4 separate regions of the Homo sapiens genome follow, and regions 2, 3 and 4 are each linked to region 1. The links are contacts of gene promoters, found by promoter capture Hi-C in blood cells and fetal thymus (Javierre and others, 2016). All regions are on one chromosome and are shown on one strand. The core of a region is centred on a gene start or on the middle of the fragment in contact, and the rest is flanking DNA. Distances in the headings are between cores, read along the strand shown.

What was found. The method cuts DNA at HindIII sites, captures the fragments that hold promoters and counts their contacts. A CHiCAGO score of 5 or more calls a contact.
Region 2: a contact is called between a fragment that was not itself captured here and the fragment with the promoter of TAF9 in region 1, in 7 of 17 cell types (activated CD4 T cells, total CD4 T cells, non-activated CD4 T cells and 4 more). The highest score is 15.7, in activated CD4 T cells.
Region 3: a fragment that was not itself captured here is called in contact with the fragment with the promoter of TAF9 in region 1 in 1 of 17 cell types (naive CD8 T cells); the score reaches 9.5 in naive CD8 T cells.
Region 4: the fragment with the promoter of MRPS27 here is called in contact with the fragment with the promoter of TAF9 in region 1 in 3 of 17 cell types (total CD4 T cells, naive CD4 T cells and non-activated CD4 T cells); the score reaches 7.2 in total CD4 T cells.

What each region holds. Positions count from the first base shown.
Region 1 is chr5:69,367,766-69,370,769 of GRCh38, reverse strand. TAF9 (TATA-box binding protein associated factor 9) reads left to right here and starts at 1,250. Exons shown (of 3, transcript NM_003187.5): 1 at 1,250-1,307. It overlaps AK6 (adenylate kinase 6), which reads left to right and starts at 1,250. Exons shown (of 5, transcript NM_016283.5): 1 at 1,250-1,307. The coding sequence starts at 1,280. It overlaps RAD17 (RAD17 checkpoint clamp loader component), which reads right to left and starts at 952. Exons shown (of 19, transcript NM_133338.3): 1 at 837-952. RefSeq lists an enhancer at 149-698. The HindIII fragment of the contact is 4,867 bases long and covers 769-3,004 here.
Region 2 is chr5:71,591,212-71,594,164 of GRCh38, reverse strand. MCCC2 (methylcrotonyl-CoA carboxylase subunit 2) reads right to left here. Exons shown (of 17, transcript NM_022132.5): 2 at 1,173-1,239. Among named protein-coding and RNA genes, the nearest start is that of MCCC2, 5.3 kb to the right of the region's middle. The HindIII fragment of the contact is 540 bases long and covers 1,087-1,626 here.
Region 3 is chr5:67,202,681-67,205,796 of GRCh38, reverse strand. No RefSeq gene overlaps it. Among named protein-coding and RNA genes, the nearest start is that of CD180, 7.4 kb to the right of the region's middle. The HindIII fragment of the contact is 3,432 bases long and covers 1-3,116 here.
Region 4 is chr5:72,318,785-72,321,594 of GRCh38, reverse strand. MRPS27 (mitochondrial ribosomal protein S27) reads left to right here and starts at 1,355. Exons shown (of 11, transcript NM_015084.3): 1 at 1,355-1,446. The coding sequence starts at 1,374. PTCD2 (pentatricopeptide repeat domain 2) reads right to left here and starts at 1,222. Exons shown (of 10, transcript NM_024754.5): 1 at 1,086-1,222. The coding sequence starts at 1,212. RefSeq lists enhancers at 1,024-1,233, 1,294-1,623, 1,222-1,762, 1,763-2,304. The HindIII fragment of the contact is 19,626 bases long and covers 1-2,810 here.

The sequences.
Region 1 (3,004 bases), core at 1-2,500:
TGTTCAGCCCTCCGCCCCAAATCGTTCACGATTAGAGACTGTGACGTTTCAAAAGGTATACAGGTGGAAAAAAAACACCTATTTGAGTAAATATAGTTTGTAGCTCGAAATAAAAGATGCAGACCAGGGGCCGGACGCGGTGGCTCATGCCTGTAATCCCAGCACCGTGGGAGGACGAGGCGGGCGGATCATCTGAGGTCAGGAGTTTGAGACCAGCCTGGCCAAAACATGGTGAAACCCCGTCTCTATTAAAAATGCAAAAATTAGCCGGGCGTGGTGGTGGGCGCCTGTAATCCCAGCTACTCTGGAGGCTAAGGCAGGAGAATCACTTGAACCCAGGAGGCGGAGGTTGCACTCCAGCCTGGGCGACAAGAGTGAGACTCCGTCTCAAAACAAAACAAAAACAAACAAACAAACAAAAAAAGGTGCAGACTGTTGTCACGGTCAGGTCTCTATTCACTCTTGAAAACAAGATTGACAATTACCTCCTTTAAAAAGCAGATAACTGTCCCTGAAGATGCGAGGTTACTGAAATGAGATGTCAGAGGTAGACCTTCAAGACTATTCCTAGCCGACCCACCACCACCCCACACAGTGAACAGGGAATACTAAGCTCAAATATTCGTCCAACGTAATCCTGTAATCAGTGGGGTGCCGGGTTGAGCTCGCAAATCCCCGCTGCAGGACAGGGCTCTGCACCCTCAATCTTCTCATCCCCAGATGGGATGGGCGGGTCGGGAGGAGGAGCGACGAGAGCCCAGGAAAGCTTGAAGGCAGAGATAGACTCACGTCTCTAAGACATATACATAATATAGCCGCAACCGCGGCGGCCTTACTTTCCCGGAGCTGCATCCCCTTTTAGGCGAAGAGCGGAGGCGACCAGGGACTACCCTAGGTGAAAGGGCAGCCACCTGGCCCTACCCGGGCTCAACGCCGAGCCTCTCGGAGGTACGGCCTCCCGGGGACCTTCCAGACTGGTCGGCGCAAGCGAAGGGCGGGGACCACCGAAGGAGTGTGTGACTTAGGCATCCAGCGCACTGCCTGACCCGAAGTACCGACCCGAGTTATGCCCACCCTCCAACTTTGCGACGGAAATGTGTCATCGAAAGCCAGGTAACCAGTGGGCCGCGGCTGGGCCGCCGGGGCAGGCTAGGGGCGCCGCGGTGGGCTTCGGGGCCTTTGGGGCCGTGGGCTTTTGCTGCCGCCCGCCCCTTCCGGCTCCTCCCTGTAGAGCAAAGGGCACGTGAGCGAGGCGCCCGAAGCCGTCGCGGCGGGGACCATGTTGCTTCCGAACATCCTGCTCACCGGTCAGGGCGCGCGGCCGGGAGGGACTGGGCTGGGGCAGGCTGGGGGCGCAGAGTGCTCTGGGCATCGGGCGCCCAGGTGGGGGCCCCTCACTGCCCTCTTCAGAGGCCGGCCGAGGGCCACGAGGCGGTTGTCAGCGCCCCGGGAGCCGACCCTCGCGGGCGTTGCGGGAGGCGAGGGAGGGGACGCGGAACGTTAATTCCGTTGGCCTGAGGCTCCGGGGGGGGGCGGGGGGGGGTGGAGAGAGGTCGGCAGATCCAGCTCTCCAGCTTGGCAACCTGCTTAGTCTTTCTGAATCTGGTATTTCGTTTGTAAAATGGGTTGTTGATTCTTTGGCAGGGTTGGCCTTGGGATTTTTAGCGAAATAACGTAAGGCCATATCTGCTTCCCGGTAGAGTCATTAATGGTGGATGCCTCACTCCTTAGGCCTCCGTGGGCCGTATTTTATTTTTTCTTTGCTTCTGATAAACGCCTCAGATTAGATTTCGGTAAACGAGTTCAGATGTTTGTGACGTGACGAAATTGCTGTATGCTTTTGTTGAGTTACATCAAAGGATCCCCCCGCCCCTTAAAAGGAAGGCATATAGAGCATTTCGGGTCGTTTCTCGCGTAGGAGTGGGTCTTTGAAGCCATACTCAGGGTGCATGTTATCAGTGAAGGGAATTAAAATGCTGCATAACGACTTTAACGAATATTTTTGCTAGCCGTTTAGTCCTGAAAGTGTTTATCAAATTGTAGGCCATTCGTGGAAAAATCTAATGCATGTAGATTTTATTGCAAGGTACAGAAAAATTAAGACTCTTTGTGGGAACAGTAAAGTTACATCATTCACCCAAAGGTAAAATTGTTGGCAGCGCACAAGACATGTCTGTTTCTGAGAGGTGCAGATTAACCACCCCACAAATAACGTTTAGAATTTTAGATTCCTTAAGCGGAAGATTTTACATCTTTTTGCATGGATCAAACATAGTGCCCTGGTTATTAAGTCATTGTCAAAACTTTAAAGTGAACATTTTATTGAAAACATGTTGAGTCCAGGGTTCAGACTTGGTGTATTATAGTGGACTTGAGGTGACCGTTATTCTCCTGGGTATGGGAACTGGATTATCCCTGTTATCTTTATGCTTAAGTTTAATTTCAGGGATGTTAAATCTGAATAGCTGAAAATTATGAATTTGATGATCTTGAAATGTAATTTTAATAGGTATCAGAAGGGGAAGGTAAAGAACAATGTATATAGTATTGTCATTTATGTAAAAGGGAATATGTGTTGTATTTATATAACAAAGAGTATGTACATATATGTACATTTACATGCAAACATAAATAGGGTTTCTTTGGGAAAGGAAACTGGTTTACAGTGGTTATCTCTAGGGAAGGGCGCAAGGGGTCAGTAGAGGTAATTTTCAGACTGCTTAATTTTAACATGAACAGTTTTGTTTTTGTTCTTGTTTTTGTTTTTGTTTGAGACAGAGTCTCATTATGTTGGCCAGGCTGGTCTCGAACTCCTGCGCTTAAGCGATCCTCCCGCCTTCTCCTCCCAAATTGCTGGGATTACACGCGCGAGCCACCACACGTGGCCATGAACAGTTTTTAAATCTTTATAAGTTAAAGCAAATAGGCCAGGTGGGTGGCTCATGCCTGTAAATCCCAGCACTTTGGGAGGTGGAGGTGGGGAGATCGCTTGAGCTCAGGAGTT
Region 2 (2,953 bases), core at 107-2,606, 2.2 Mb before region 1:
TCACCCCTAACAAAACACTTTCATTTCAGCAAGAGTTTGAATTCTTTTTCTGGAGACAACACCTTGATCTAAAATGGCTTCAAAAGTATGAATTCCATAGCTGCGTACAGGGGCACAGGTACAGTCTCAGCTACTTGGGAGGCTGAGGCAAGAAGATCACTTGAGCTCCCGACTTCGAGTCCAGCCCGAGCAACAGAGTGAGGAGACCCTGTCTCTAAATAAACTAGTAAATAAGCAATTCTAGACCATACTTTCCAAATCCAGTCTTCTTCACTATTTTTATACTCCTGAGATCCAGTATTTAAACTACTCTAACCTAAATGTAAAATTTTACATTAAAAGTATTATATACAATTTTAAGTATTATATACTTGTTGATAAAAGTTATCTGAAACAGTCTATCAAATATGAAGAATGCTTTCCATCTGAGATTCAGCACTTAGGGAGGAAATATTAAATGCCTACTAAGAAATCACTGGCCAGGTGTGGTGGCTCATACCTGTAATCCCAGCACTTTGGGAGGCCAAGATGAGAGGATCGCTTGAGCCAGGGGTTCAGTCCAGCCTGGCAATAGAGCAAGAACCCATCTCTTAAAAAAAAAATTAATAAAAATTAAAAATAAATTATTTATTCATAAAATTTATGAATTTGAATCTTTACTTTTCCCCCCAAAAGTGGTAGTACTCTATGAAGAGAAAAACTGGCCAAGTAATAGGAAAAATAAAATTAAATGCCTGCATACCAACAAATGCATAGTCTTAAGAGTCAAAAGCTCAGCCAGGAGTAGTGGCTCACGCCTATAATTGCAGCACTTTGGGAGGCCAAGGCAGATGGATCACTTGACATCAGTAGTTCAAGACCAGCCTGGCCAACATGGTGAAACCTTGTCTCTATTTAAAAAATACAAAAATTAGACAGGCATGGAGGCAGGCACCTGTAATCCCAACAACTTGGGAGGCTGAGGCAGGAGAATGGCTTGAACCCAGGAGGCGGAGGTTGCAGTGAGCTGAGATGGCGCCACTGCACTCCAGCCTGGGCAAGAGAGCAAGACTCCATCTCAAAAAAAAAAAAAAAATATCAAAAGCTTAATTCCAGTATTTTTCCTAAAAGCAATAACTATTTTAGGACATCTTAAGTAAAGGCATAAGCTGTGGAATAAATGCTGTGTTTACCTAGTTTTATATGCTCCACTCGTTCATGGAGCTGATTTACTAGTGCTTTCATCTGCTTGTAGTTCTCCTAAAACAGAAATAGAGGAGACAGGGGAGAGAAATATTAGAAAGCAATTCCTTTTTACCAAAATAAAGGTCAAAAAAAAAAAAAAAACAGTGGTCTGTGCCAACTCTGTGTGGCCGCCACACTGGGCCACCCCATCTGTGGCAGCCACGCTGGGCCACTGGATCGTATGGAAAAGATTCACCCCTGCCTGTCTTGTTCAAGCTCTTCTTCACCACCCCACTTGTCCATCTCTCCATATCTTACTCCTCTGTAAGCCTAATTCATGTTTTATCTCATCTTCAACTCTACTTCTGGCCACTCCTACTCAATTTAACATCTTTCTTCCTTAAACACCTTCTGAACTTAAACTGATCTCTATTTGTTTTCCTATTTTAAGGAATATAAGCTTTTTGAAGGTTAGAATACCATCTTATTTTTCCTGTCCCATCAGTCACTATCTGAGATTCCAACCAATGCTTGCTTACTGACAAAGTACACTTAAAAACAAATCCCAGAGGGAGAAAAAGGATCTTATTTTTATTTTTAATTTTGTATTTTTATTTTTTGGGACAGAGTCTCCCTTTGTTGCCCCGGCTGGAGTGCAATGGTGCAATCTCGGCTCACTGCAACCTCCGCCTCCCGAGATCAAGCGATTCTCCTGCCTCAGCCTCCTAAGTAGCTGGGACTACAGGTGTGTGCCACCATGCCCAGCTAATTATTGTATTTTTAATAGAGACCGGGTTTCGCCATGTTGGCCAGGCTGATCTCAAACTCCTTACCTCAAGTGATTTGCCCATCTCGGCCTCCCAAAGTGCTGGGATTACAGGCATGAGCCACCGCACCTGGCCAAGGATCCTATTTTATGTTTTAAAAAGAACAGGCTGAGTGTGGTGGCTTATGTCTGTTATCCCAGAGCTTTGGAAGGCGGAGGCAGGAGCATCGCTTAAGCCCAGGAGTTTGAGACCAGCCTGAGTAACATAGGGAGACTTCCATCTTTACAAAAAGAATAAAAATAAAAAGAATAAAAATTTAAAAATTATCTGGGCATGGTGGTGTGTCCCAGCGACTTGACCAACTAAGGTGGAAGGATCTCTTGAGCCCAGGAGTTTGAAGCTGCAGTGAACTAGGATCGTGCCATTGTACTCCAGCCTGGGTGACAGAGCAAGACTGTTTCAAATAAATAAATAAATTAGTAAAAAGAACAAAACTCGGCCAGCCGTGGTGGCTCACGCCTGTAATCTCAGCACTTTGGGAGGCCGAGGCGGGCAGATCACCTACGGTCGGGAGTTCGAGACCAGCCTGACCAACATGGAGAAAACTCGTCTCTACTAAAAAATACAAAATTAGCCAGGCAAGGTGGTGCTTGCCTGTAATCCCAGCTACTCGGGAGGCTGAGGCAGGAGAATCCCTCGAACCCGGGAGGCGGAGGTTGCAGTGAGCCAAGATTGCATCATTGCACTCCAGCCTGGGCAACAAGAGCAAAACTCCATCTCAAAAAAAAAAAAAAAAAAACAGAACAAAACTCTATGCTGGCATATATACACAAATTAAGTAATACACAAGGAAATATTGACAGTGAGAAGTAGAAAAGAGGTAGAGGGACTAACTTTTCACCCTTCTGTATTTTTAAATTTTGTTTGGTCAGCATATTACTTTAGAACAATACTTAACTAGCTAATTATCTTTGAAATTCAGACTTGGCCCACTAATACATTTTGCTCCCCATGTGATTAGC
Region 3 (3,116 bases), core at 366-2,865, 2.2 Mb after region 1:
GGCAAAGAAACAAATGCAACCTATAAAAATCAAAGAAAAATAATGAAGATGTGTTTTCCTGAGCACGGAGGTCACAGGGATTGAGCAAGGTTTTGACCAACTCCCCATCAATCTCCACATAATAAAGTGATAGATTTCTGCGACTGGGGCTGGTTTGGTTTTGTTCTTAAGTCAGAAATTATAGTTGTTTCCAGATCTTAGGCTAGAATCGAAAACTTGGGAAACACTCGGTATTTTTTATTATTTTGAAATTAAAACTCCCAAATGTAAATTGCCCCAAACTAGCAAATCTCAAAAACCTAAAAATCTTACATATGTTCCAGCCATGCAGGAGCTGAAAGAGAACTATTTACAATAGTTTTGATCAGTGTTATTTATAAAATGGAAATCTCACGAGTCTACTTAGAGCAAGTAGCACTTTTCTCTGGGGAAGTTATTGGGGAAAAGCAAAGCATTTTAGTCCCAGCTATACCAAATTTGGTGGCTTTGGGCACTTATTGGAAGGATCCAAACTCTGCTTTAAAATAGAAACACGTATGTGAGACTCAAGTCATCTCTAGAAAGATGTTTAGAAAATATGTGCAAATGTTCAGATATTGCCACAATAAAAACCCTCTGCCGAATCTTAACCATTTACTTCTAGTTCCCAAGCTCGTCCCCGAGCCCCTTCATATTCTACCCAGGGCACTCACATGCAGGATGACTGCTGGAGATCTTATGTGATTGGGGAGAGCCTCCCTCACAGGAGGAAGAAGCCTCAATAAGCAGAGATTGAGTATGCATATCTGGCAAGCCACCTTAATTAGCTTCTTCATATGTACAAACATTTCCTCACAGCCCTACTTAACGATCAGCGGTCATCATGTGCCCTAATTCAGAGACTCTGTATCAGCAATAAATTGGGCCTGGGGCAGCCTCCTCCTGCCCTGTCATTAAAGAGTCCTATTTACTGTGGCCTTTGCAGTCACTCCATCTCCTTAGCACTGGAAAGTCACTACAGCTTGCAGTGTTTACTTTGGTGGTCAACAGCAATAGGCACTCAGTGGTCCCGGCAGTAGCTCAGAGCCCATAGATTCTGTGCAATTAAGAAAATACAGCTGCATGAAGTGAGGAGTGGCCCATGGGCCTGGGGACCAAGTCAGCATGTCCTTGGCATTTACTAAGTCCAGATGTCTTTATCTTCTGGGCAGGAAGTCAGAGCCTGTCCAGATGGCATCTTGATTGCTTTTGGCCCAGCTGATTAAATTTCTAAGGCTGACATCTCTTCCAAATACCCTCTCCATCCTATGAAATGTGGTTGTCAGATAAGTGCCAGAAAGAATCCCCAGAGAGGACTGCAAACTGGGAGGGCCTGAAGGCAAACCTGAGCGCCTGAGAAGTCCGCGCTGAACACATTTCCTGCCATATGGCTGGGGTTCTGGGATTCTTTCCACTACAAGCCAGGGGATTTCTTGAGAAGCAAGAGTGAGTCTGGGATCAGACAGAGAGAGTTAGGAGCCCTGGAACTTCCACTTTCTGACCTGTGAACTTGCATGTATTTCTGAACCACTCTAACCTTTGTGCACTCATCTATAGATTTGGGATAAAAATAGCACCTACCTCATGTGAACCCGGGAGGTGGAGCTAGCAGTGAGCCAAGATCGTGTCACTGCACTCCAGCCTGGGCGACAGAGCAAGACTCCGTCTCAAAAAAAAAAAAAAAAAAAAAAAAAAAAAGGACCTACATCAACAAGTAGTTCTGAAATTATATGTGATAAATAATGCACATCAAGTGTTTACAAGAGTACCTGGCATATAGTCTGTATTACCTACATATATTTTATTTTTGCTCTTCCTTTTACTTTGCCTCCTGAGGAGCTGCTCCTTAAAACCACAAACTGAATATGGACAATAAATCAGCCTGGTCATTCACGCATGCTTTATGCTAGAAATAACACGTAATTCTTGCCAAGCATGGTGGCTTATGCCTGTAATGCCAGCTACTCAAGAGGCTGAGGCAGGAGGATCACTTGAGGCCAGGAGTTCAAGACCAGTCTGGAACACAGTGAGAACTCTGCCTATAAAAATATTTTTTTAATTACTATTTTTGTAATTTATTTTTTTTTAGAGACACGGGCTCACTCTGTCACTCAGGCTGTAGTACCATGGTGCGATCTCAGCTCACTGCAGCCTCGACCTCCTGGGCTCAGGCAATCCTCTTGCTTCAGCCCCTCAACTAGCTGGGACCACAGGCATGTGCCTCCACACCTGGCTGATTTTTGTATTTTTTGTAGAGACAGGGTTTTGCCATGGTGCCCAGGCTGGTCTGGGACTCCTGAACTCAGGCAATCTGCCTGTTTCAGCCTCCCAAAGTGCTGAGATTACAGGCGTGAGCTACTATGCCCAGCCAGAAAAAAAATTTTTTTAATACATAAAATAAAAATAATTCTTTATAGTCCTTTATGGGTTATTCTCTATAGTCCTTTCTTTCACAAGCACCCTTCAGAGGTAAGCAGGGGAGACAGTATTTCTCTTTTGTAGAAGAAGTTGAAACACTTAGAGTCTAATGATATGTCCAAGATCAAATAGGTATCTGTGTCTGAAGATGGAAACCCATGAAGGCTGTTGAACTCTTGTCTGCTGCTAATCCTGCTCACAAGAGGAAGACAGGGCTGCACATCGAGCAGAGGAACAAACAAAAGGTTCCCTTACCCCATCCTGCCTGTAACAAATGCTCCCAGTCATACTGATGGGACATTTCTGAGGTTCACTAGAATGAAGGAAGGATGCCACATTGCCATTTACGGAAGTTGTTGCCTACCTCTTAGCTAGCTTGGGCAATCCTTTCCTCCCACGCTCACTATAAAGGGCTGCGGAAATTTAATCTAATACAATGCTCACAGTAAAAAGCCTGACATAAGACAGGGTGTGCAAAATGTTCCTGAAGGGCTAAAAGTAAATAATAATATAAGTAAATTGAATAATAATATAAGTAATCTCCACTTTTGGGACTGTTAAACTCATAGGTTGTTCACTTACATTCTTAATGAAAAAATGACAGGGCTGGATTAGATTATTTTAAAACTTATTTTTAGCTTAAAATTTCTGATTTCAATGCACCACTATTGAAACTATTT
Region 4 (2,810 bases), core at 106-2,605, 3.0 Mb before region 1:
GGATCCTTGGCTGTGCATGAGATAAAACGGACCAAGCGTGGCCGAAGAATCACGCACTAACAGAGTTCTGTGAGCTGCAGTAACAAGGTAACAATAAAAGTTGCTATTTATTTACAGAAAGGCAGTCCAGTGAAGTGGTTAGGAGCAGGTTTCTATTGTTGGGTGTGTTCAAATCCCACCTCTAACAGTTCCCTCTGACTTTGGGCAAATTACTTAACCTTGTTCCTCCTCTGTAAATGGAGAAAAGAATGGTACTTCTCTTGCTGGGTGTTGTCTAGAGAAAAGGAATTAATGTATGTAAACTACATTAAAGTAATGCCTGACAAACATTTTTACTATCACTCACTAGCATCTTCAGATTTAACTCTCTTCATAGAGATGTTAGAGGATAGTTTTGAAAAATGAAGAAACGTGCCGTTAAGTCTTTTAGATTGTTAGCAGAACTGAGACTCCATAAGACCTCTGCTTCCAAACTCTGCAGAAAAGAAAAAGGCCGGGCGCGGTGGCTCACTCCTATAATCCCAGCACTTTGGGAGGCCGAGGCGGGTGGACCACGAGGTCAGGAGTTCGAAACCAGCCTGGCCAACATAGTGAAACCCGTCTCTACTAAAAATACAAAAAATTACCCGGGCGTGGTGGCGCACGCCTGTAGTCCCAACTACTCGGAAAGCTGAGGCAGGAGAATCGCTTGAACCCGGGAGGCGGAGGCTGCAGTGAGCCGAGATCGCGCCACCGCACTCCAGCTTGGGCGACAGAGCAAGACTTCGTCTCAAAAATAAATAAATAAATAAATAAAAGTCACCCAAGGCGGGAGGGATGTTCCTGAAGACGAACGTCGCCCCATCTGAGGGAGCACTACAGCCCCAAGGTCAATACCCCAGCAGTCCTTCGATTTGCAGGCACTGGGGGTATCCACGACCCCCAGTGGTCACCACTGCACCCACGTGCAACTAGAGGGCGAGGGTGCGCTCCAGGCCAGTGAGTGACTTAGGAGCTGTGGCTGCTCCACAGAGATGCTAGCTGGGATCTAACACTCCCTTCTCTCCCATCCCTCCCCTCCTTCCCTAGGCTAAAGCCGCGGATACCTCCGAGAGGGCAGCGGCAGCTGACAGAGCCGGAGCCTCCCACCCCAGGATACACCAAAATCTGCAGCGCCTGCAGGAGAACTCGATTCGAGGGCCGAAATGCAGCAGCCATACTGTCTCGGACCATACCAACTACTGGAACCGGGGCGAGGAGGCGGAGCGTCGGTCCTGTCGTCGAGAGCGACAAAAGGGATTCGTCCAATTCTGGGCGCCCCGAGAGGTCGAGCTGTAACCCCGCCCCTTCCTCTGTCCGTAACCCGTTGGCTGTTCCTTTTGGTACGCTCCAAGATGGCTGCCTCCATAGTGCGGCGCGGGATGCTCCTGGCGCGGCAAGTGGTTCTTCCTCAGCTCTCTCCTGCAGGTTGGCCGGACAGCTTCATTAGGCCCCTGATTATTCTGTTTTTTGGGTGAAGGGAGCGGTGGGCTTTCAAGAGGAGAGGAAACGTTTCTGGAATCTGATTGCTAGGGACGCCATTTGGGGTGTTTGGTAGTGCAGAAGAAGGAGACAAGGTATCTGATCCATTTCCTTCCCTAAAATAACAGTATGTTCCTGTCCAAAGGTACGAAGAGCAGTGGAAGGTTATATAGCATGAGGGAATTTGCGTATGATTCGCCAGATTTATGTGTTGGGGTGGTCGTGCTTTTGCTGACCACGAAAAACCCAAATGTGCGCCGGGCGCGGTGGCCCACGCCTGTGGTCCCAGCACTTTGGGAACGCGAGGCGGGCGGATCGCCAGGAGTTCGAGACCAGCCTGGCCAACAGGGCGAAACCCCATCTCTACTAAAAAATACAAAGAAATTATCTGGGCCTGGTGGCGCGCGCCTGTAATCCCAGCTACTCGGGGGGCTGAGGCAGGATAATCGCTTGAACTCGGGAGGCGGAGGTTGCAGTGAGCAGAGATCGCGCCACTACACTCCAGCCTGGGCAACAGAGCGAGACCCTGTCTCAAAAAAAAAAAAAAAAAAAAAAAAGGAAAAACCTAAATGTGTCCATTCCTGGGGCTGGGACATTTTTCTCCCATCTGAGGTTTCTTTAGAGGGACGTCAGATAAACATTTTTCCCACCACCACACATTTAGCTGGACCCCTGGTCTTCGTGGAAGAATTTTTCAGTATTAATCTCATTTTATCTGATGACCTAGAGCACAACTTTTGATTGACCTTTCTTTGCTATAGTTTTCCACGTGTAGATAATAAATGCTATTAGTTACTTGTAAAATACTTTGATATCTGAACTAAATGGCAGCCCACTCAAAGCCTGCATAGTGGATCTGATAATGAAAACATTGGAAAAAAGTTTTAAAGTATTTATAGAAGCCAAATTTGCAGTGATTCTAACCACATAATCCAGACAGACATATTTGATAAAAATGCAATAATCACACTCGATTTTTCCATTGCCGCTTATCTTCCCTTTCCAACCTACCTCCCATCCTCTATTTTTTTAAAAAGCACGCACTTCTTTAGGAACAGCCATTAAACGTCAATGTGAAACCTCAGAGTTGGCCACCAGTTTTCTGAAGATTAAGTGGCTGACCTGGTGAAAACGTTTAATGTCACACATTAGGCAGTGTTATGCACAACGCTTGACACCTTAGTAAGAATTAGCTGTTGTAGCTATTTTCTGTTTATGTGGTTTCCGTGAACAACTACACACAGAGGGCATTTTGGGAGACCTGTCTTTCCCCACAATCACCTCCCCAGCCTTTTTTTTTTTTTTCGGGT